Regions from separate parts of the Homo sapiens genome. Here region 2 is linked to region 1. The links are contacts of gene promoters, found by promoter capture Hi-C in human tissues and cell types (Jung and others, 2019). All regions are on one chromosome and are shown on one strand. The core of a region is centred on a gene start or on the middle of the fragment in contact, and the rest is flanking DNA. Distances in the headings are between cores, read along the strand shown. Region 1 holds the start of IZUMO3 (IZUMO family member 3). Region 2 has its middle 79 kb from the start of IZUMO3.

The links. Contacts are between HindIII fragments. The study calls those that stand out against the background at their distance.
Region 2: a contact is called between a fragment that was not itself captured here and the fragment with the promoter of IZUMO3 in region 1, in 5 of the 25 tissues and cell types used here (H1 embryonic stem cells, IMR-90 fibroblasts, dorsolateral prefrontal cortex and 2 more).

The regions. Positions count from the first base shown.
Region 1 is chr9:24,544,292-24,547,657 of GRCh38, forward strand. It overlaps IZUMO3 (IZUMO family member 3), which reads right to left and starts at 1,606. Exons shown (of 7, transcript NM_001365008.2): 1 at 1,133-1,606; 2 at 921-995; 3 at 681-770; 4 at 452-469. The coding sequence starts at 1,358. RefSeq lists an enhancer at 56-1,255. The HindIII fragment of the contact is 4,602 bases long and covers 935-3,366 here.
Region 2 is chr9:24,465,757-24,468,761 of GRCh38, forward strand. No RefSeq gene overlaps it. Among named protein-coding and RNA genes, the nearest start is that of IZUMO3, 79 kb to the right of the region's middle. The HindIII fragment of the contact is 6,574 bases long and covers 1-3,005 here.

The sequences.
Region 1 (3,366 bases), core at 356-2,855:
GGAGAAGAAAGATAATCAGAAAGAGGGCATGGCACGAGGGTTCCTTAGTCATACATCAAGTGTGGAGGATTTGATCTCAAGCATTCCCAGGACTCTCAAGTTTGCATTGCTGTGAATTTCTTCTTCTCCTAGAAATCAAGTTTCTTGATGGATCAAAATCTGTAAGTCTGATCTCCAGGAAAAAGCGGGAAAAGGATGCCTCAGCTTATACTGGGGCAATGGGTTGTAAACCATATGTTAGAAGGCCTCCTAGTACCTCAAAAATATGTGGGGTGTCTGAGATTTCATGAGCTAGGTTTCGTTATCAGGTATTGTTGACGTTACCCCTTGTAACCACAGCTCTAGGAATTGGTTTCCCAGTGTAACAGGTGGGAGAGATAGGGCCATATAGAGCAAAGGAGATGGGAAAATATGGGCTGAAACCTCAAGGCGTCACATGTACTGTACTCACTGCAATCTTCAGAACAAGCTAGAAGAGAATCAGAAAGTTCTAATGAGTTTAAAACCAGCTACAGTTTGCCATATTTATACCCAAGTAGTCTTTGTTTACCCTTTAAGTTCCAGTTACCTCTCCACCCATTCTAAATAACTCTATTATGAACTTGCATTTCTTCCCTCATCCCGCATTTTCTATTCCCTTCATATAACTTCAGTGCTGTTATATAGAAAGTTTTACTTACCAATTTCAGAGAAGTTCTTTAGTAATTCTTTCAGTTTGGATTCCAGGTTTTGGCAGACATCGAGAAGCTTGCCTTGATAGATAAAGACACCTAAGAGGGAGTGGAAGGGGTGTCAAAAAATAGAAGTAGCTCTTCCCTTCAGAAGTTAATTATGTCTGTTTTTATCTTTGTTTTCCCCAGCCAAATTTTCTGAGGCTTGCTTGAGCAATACAAACTTTTAACATTGAAACAGTACCTCACCTTTCCATGTTTCATTGCCCAGTTTATAAAATTCATTCTTCAACCATGTTCTCAACTTAACAACCTGCTGAACAGCTAGAGAGGGAGAGTAAAGGTACATGTAGGGGAATAATTACATCTATGCAGGAAGTTATGTAGACCCAGGTGTTCTCTTCCTTGCCTCCCTTCTCCGTTTAAGCCCCTGGACTCTCAGGAACTCAAGCTTCCCTCACCCAACACCCGAAGCCTCTTGTCACTGTGGGAGACCTTGAAGCTTAAATGAATCATCTCCTTAATCTGCCGTTCAAGCAGCTGAGTTCGGCCGGGGACTTCTGAAGGTATCAGATTTCCCAGCAAGGAGCCAACATCCTCTATAAATTTGGGGTCACATTCTAAACAGCCTTTGACTCCATGGAAGGCTGAGAGGGGCAGGAGCAGGAATAACCACAGGTCACCCATTTCTTTCTTCACCCCCGCTCCCCGACAGCAGGTTGTCCTGGCAACTAGTTCACTTAGTTCCTTTTCCTTCAAAAATCCGGGAATGAGAGCCTGGTTCTGGATAGTCTGACTCCACTTTTCCCGCTGTTTCCATCCCACTATCGGGCAATCTTTAGTTGTTTAGTTTAATGATCTTTAGTTGTTTACTGACTATTATCCTTCATTCTAGGAGAGGGAACTGCCAGCTGGGGAGCGGATACCTGAGTTCTGAGTGTAGAACACCAAGAGATAGAGAAGCCTTGAGCTCACACAAGCAGAGTTCTGTGCAGGGAGATGTCTCAGAAAAAGTGTTTCTTTAGCCCTCTCCCTGACTTGCATCCTCATGAGACTCTTAAACCCCCTCCTGACCTTCAGAGATGTTTATCATCAGAGATGGGTTATGGAAGTGATCCTATAGAACCTGAGAGATTGCTTAACTCAAACTCTGCTTCTACATTAGAGGTAAGAAAAGCCAAGAATATTGAGTTTCTTGCGGGTCTCGGTCCCTACTGGGGCAGTATTGTTGACAAATACTGGTGGCAGTATTGTTGAGAATAAAGGAGTGAGCATTTATCTAGAATAATATTTGGCAATTTTAATAGACAGTAACATATTTCAGGCTACATTTATCACTAGGATGATTTTCTAGACATGACTTGTAATCTTTTCCTTTTCTTCTTGCTTTCTTCTCTTTTCTTTCCCTTCCTTCCTTCCTTCCTTCCTTCCTTCCTTCCTTCCTTCCTTCCTTCCTTCCTTCCTTCCTTCCTTCTTTCTTTCTCCTTTTCTTTTCTTTTCTTTTCTTTTCTTTTCTTTTCTTTTCTTTTCTTTTCTTTTCTTTTCTTTTTTTTCTTTTCTTTTCTTCTTTCGAGATGGGATTTCACTCTTGTTGCCCGGGCTGGAGTGCAATGGCATGATCTCAGCTCACTTCAACCTCCGCTCCCGGGTTCCAGTGTTTCTCCTGCATCAGCCTCCTGAGTAGCTGGGATTACAGGCATGTGCCATCATGCCTGGCTTATTTTGTATTTTTAGTAGAGATGAGGTTTCTCCATGTTGGTCAAGCTGGTCTTGAACTCCCGACCTCAGGTGATTCACCCGCCTCGGCCTCCCAAAGTGCTGGGATTACAGGCATGAGCCACTGTGCCTGGTGATTTCTAATCTTTTTATAGCATTCTTCTTATAGAGAGTGTGGAGTCAGATACTAGAAACAATAGTTGAGGAATACTGAGTGATGAATCCAATAAAGTTCAGATCCTTTAACAAGTGCATTCTAAAATACTGGCAAAGTATGTAACATATAAAAACATAGTGGTTATCATGGGCTTCCCTCTCAGACCACCTACAAGGAAGATGTCCAAATAAACATGTTCTCCTTTCAATGGCCCTTTGAATAAAAATATTCTGTGTTATTTGAATAAATTGAGGTTGCTTTTCAGACTCTTAAGAGCACTGGTTACCTCTTTTCTAATACATTGCCTGTATGGCTGTGACCTTCTGGAAACCAGGAAACACTGGCAATCTACAGGGTTAGTGGTAGAATTTATATTTAAGATATGGGGTGATCACAGTGGAATGTTGTGCGGGAAGTTAAAAGAATTACCATTACTTATACGTCTACCAAGTCCATGTGACAGACATTGTGCTAAACATTTCAGGTAGTCACAAATTCTCATGGCGCGCAATCCTTTGGAGATTGTCATTTCTATGTTACTGGTAAGAAATTGAGACTCAGAGATGTAAAAGAATCCTCGCTGGAAGAATAATTTAGAGTATGAGTTCAGGGTTCAAGCTCATGTCTTGTGTGGTTCCAAACCCTATACATTTTACTGCCTCTCAACAACAACTTGCTGGGATAACACAGAAAATTATCTCTTGGAATTTGATAAGTCAAAATATGAAGGCCAATACAGATTACTTGATTTATGGTTTAAATTAGCATATCTCTGCTCAGATTTTTTTTTTATTCCCTTGGCTAGATGATCTCATTTTTAGA
Region 2 (3,005 bases), core at 54-2,553, 79 kb before region 1:
TTATAAAATTGCTGAAGCATGTTATCAGGAATGCCTACTTCTTCCTTGAGAGAGGTTTGAGACCATTTTTCTTTTGTTCACGTGACAGAGAGTATGCCAAGTGCTAGGGCTGCATAGATGAGTGGATCAAGATCTGAGCCCCTGGAAGAAGTTAGAAAATAATCTGAATTAACAGAAAAGCAAGTATGTCAGAGCAGTAAAAGACAGCCTGTGTTGGCATCAGGAATGATTCCAAAGGAGAGAGTAAGAAATTGAATAGAGGGTTTTGGGTAGTAGGTCAGCTAAATGAAAGAACTCTTCTTGGAGTTAAATTCTGACAGATAAGTAAGTTTTTGTCAGGGGGATAGAAGGAAAGTGTAGGGAAGTAGAACGTGGAACCAAGACCTTATCTTTTAGAGGGGCTAAAAAAGCATAAATTAAGTGTTCTGCATTGCAAAATGTTTGGAGATCTGGATCTTGTAAGCAGTTTTCATGGAGCTTATAGTCTAGTAGGGGAAAAGATTAGACGATTAAAAACTCATGCATATGTCTTTTAAAGAATGAGAGGATACTATGAAGCTGTCGTTGGTAATATTCAAACCAAAAGCTTAATAATGAGCACCCAGATTTAAGAAAGTAATTAGGAAAGAACATTTCATTAGAAAGAACACTTAGTCTCGTGAGTGACAGCCAGGAATTAGGAAAGAACTATCTGTGTCAGAGGAATTAAAAGATTACATCATTTTTGGAATAGGGTGAGTGAAAGGCTCAATTAACTCAAGAGTGTTTAGTTGAAATTATTTAGCAGCCAATCAATGCATAATTCACACATAATCCATTTACATTTTTAGCAAAGTGATAAGTTTAGATAATAATCTAGATTAGGGTAATAGGTTACATTCTAGCCCATTGTCTAGTTTTGTAAATAAAGTTTTATTAGAATACAGCCATACTCATTCATTTATGAATTATTGATAGTTGCTTTTGTTTTAGAACAGCAGAGTTGAGTAGTAATGAAAGAGACTCCATGGATCCAAAGCCTACAATGTTTACCAGCTGCCTTTTCTCAGTAAAAGTCAAGTCCTGATCAACGTCCTTGTGGTTTAATATAAAGTGCACTCATACACATAGTCACATGCACACACACAGAACGTTGCTTCAGTAATAATTTTCATGAATTGAAACATGAATATGTAAATCCTGATTGGTGGTGAGTGGATCCTCTATTATTACTAAAATTCTCTTTTTGGAAACAGTTCTTTGGGCTACAACCACCCAGTGGTTGTAGACAACCCTGAGGTTGTCAATTTTTCCAAGGTAATGGGTAAGAAAAACAGAAAAGTCTGGACTATGAGGGAAGAGTTTAGAATTGCTAGTTTTGTTAGATTGCCTTAGGGTATATTAATTCTATAATCATTTTTACAAATAAATCCTCCTCATCTTTAATTTCAGGAACAAAAATATATTGTAATGTGTAGAGCTTTTGTCTTAGCAAGCTACATGGTACATTATTATATGTAACTGACAAAGTTTCAGAATTAGAAATATACAATTACAGGTATCTGCATATTTCATCATTAGTAATGCAATGCAGCTAAAGGGTCAGTAAAATTTTAAGAAGTTTGTATTTTAAATGCCTTCAAATATTGAATCTTGATTTTAAGTGGAAATTATAACAGTCATATATTTGAGAAGTAATACACAATTAATCTATTTTTATATGCTGTATCATGATTTGCAATTTCGAAGTACAGAAGAAATAGAAAATACATGGGCAACTCAAACCAAATAGTAAACTCTTTAAAAAATGCTTTTAGAATAATAACATATAAATTATAAACACTACACATACAATTTAATGTGTAACAATAAACTAAACCTCTGTGTATCTCCTACCTCGCTTAAGACACAAAACGATATGAGAAAATTTGATATCCCTTGTGAATTTCCTAATCATCTTCCCCGTTTTCCCAGCAGAAACAATAACTTCCTTAATTTTATGATAATGATTTGTTTTCCTTTGTAATTAACCATATATGCATGTATTCTTAAGCAGTATGTTATTTAATTTTCTCTGTTTTAAAAATTTTACTTAATCTCATAATGCTTGTATTTTTCTGCAATTTGCTTTTTTCATTCAACATTTAAGATTTTTCTACATTGATGCTTATAGCTATAGTGCATTCATTTTCACTCCCTGGATGGATAATATTTTATTTATGAATATCCTGTTCTGCATGTGACAGGATATTTAGGTTCTTTTGAGGTGTTATTATCATGACCAATGCATCTTTGAATGTTTTTGCACATATCTGAATGAATGGGTACACAAATTTCTCTAAGAATATAGGAATAGAATTGCTTGGTCTTGATTATATGCAACTTCACTAAATAATGCCAACTGCAATTGAACCAATTGACTTCTTCACTAGCAGTGTACAGGGATTCCTCTTGCTTCAAAACCTCTTCAAAAGACAGTGTTATGATACTCTTCACTTTTTCCCAAAGTAGTGGTGAATTACATTTTTAAAAATGTAATATCCTTGTTTCATAAATGGGTTTTATTGTGTCAGCTTTGTTCCATTTGCGTGCTTAACCCTGTGCTATTATTATACTCCAAATTATGTAGTGTATTCATAAGTTTTGATAACAGGTAGGGCAAGTTGCTTTACATGTCTTTTATTTATGAAATTATTAATTATAAAATTTTTAAGAAACATTTATAAAATTATTTAGTTTGGTCTTGTTTTTAGAATTTGGCTTGTTTCTTGAAACAAGTTTTGGCTTGTTTTTAGAAATTTAGAAATTGTTAATTAGACCTTTGTATTGGAAAACAGCGACACTAAGTACAGAAATTTTCTCCAGTGTTTTGAAGATATTTTACTCTCACCCGTATTCCATTTCTGATGTTAAGAAGCCAGCAAAAGTCAAATTACCATTCCCTTGCAATAGGCAGTTTCCCCCCAACCCCGGCTGCTCTTACGAATTTTATTTTTATATTTGCTTTCTAGTAGTTTAACTGTAAT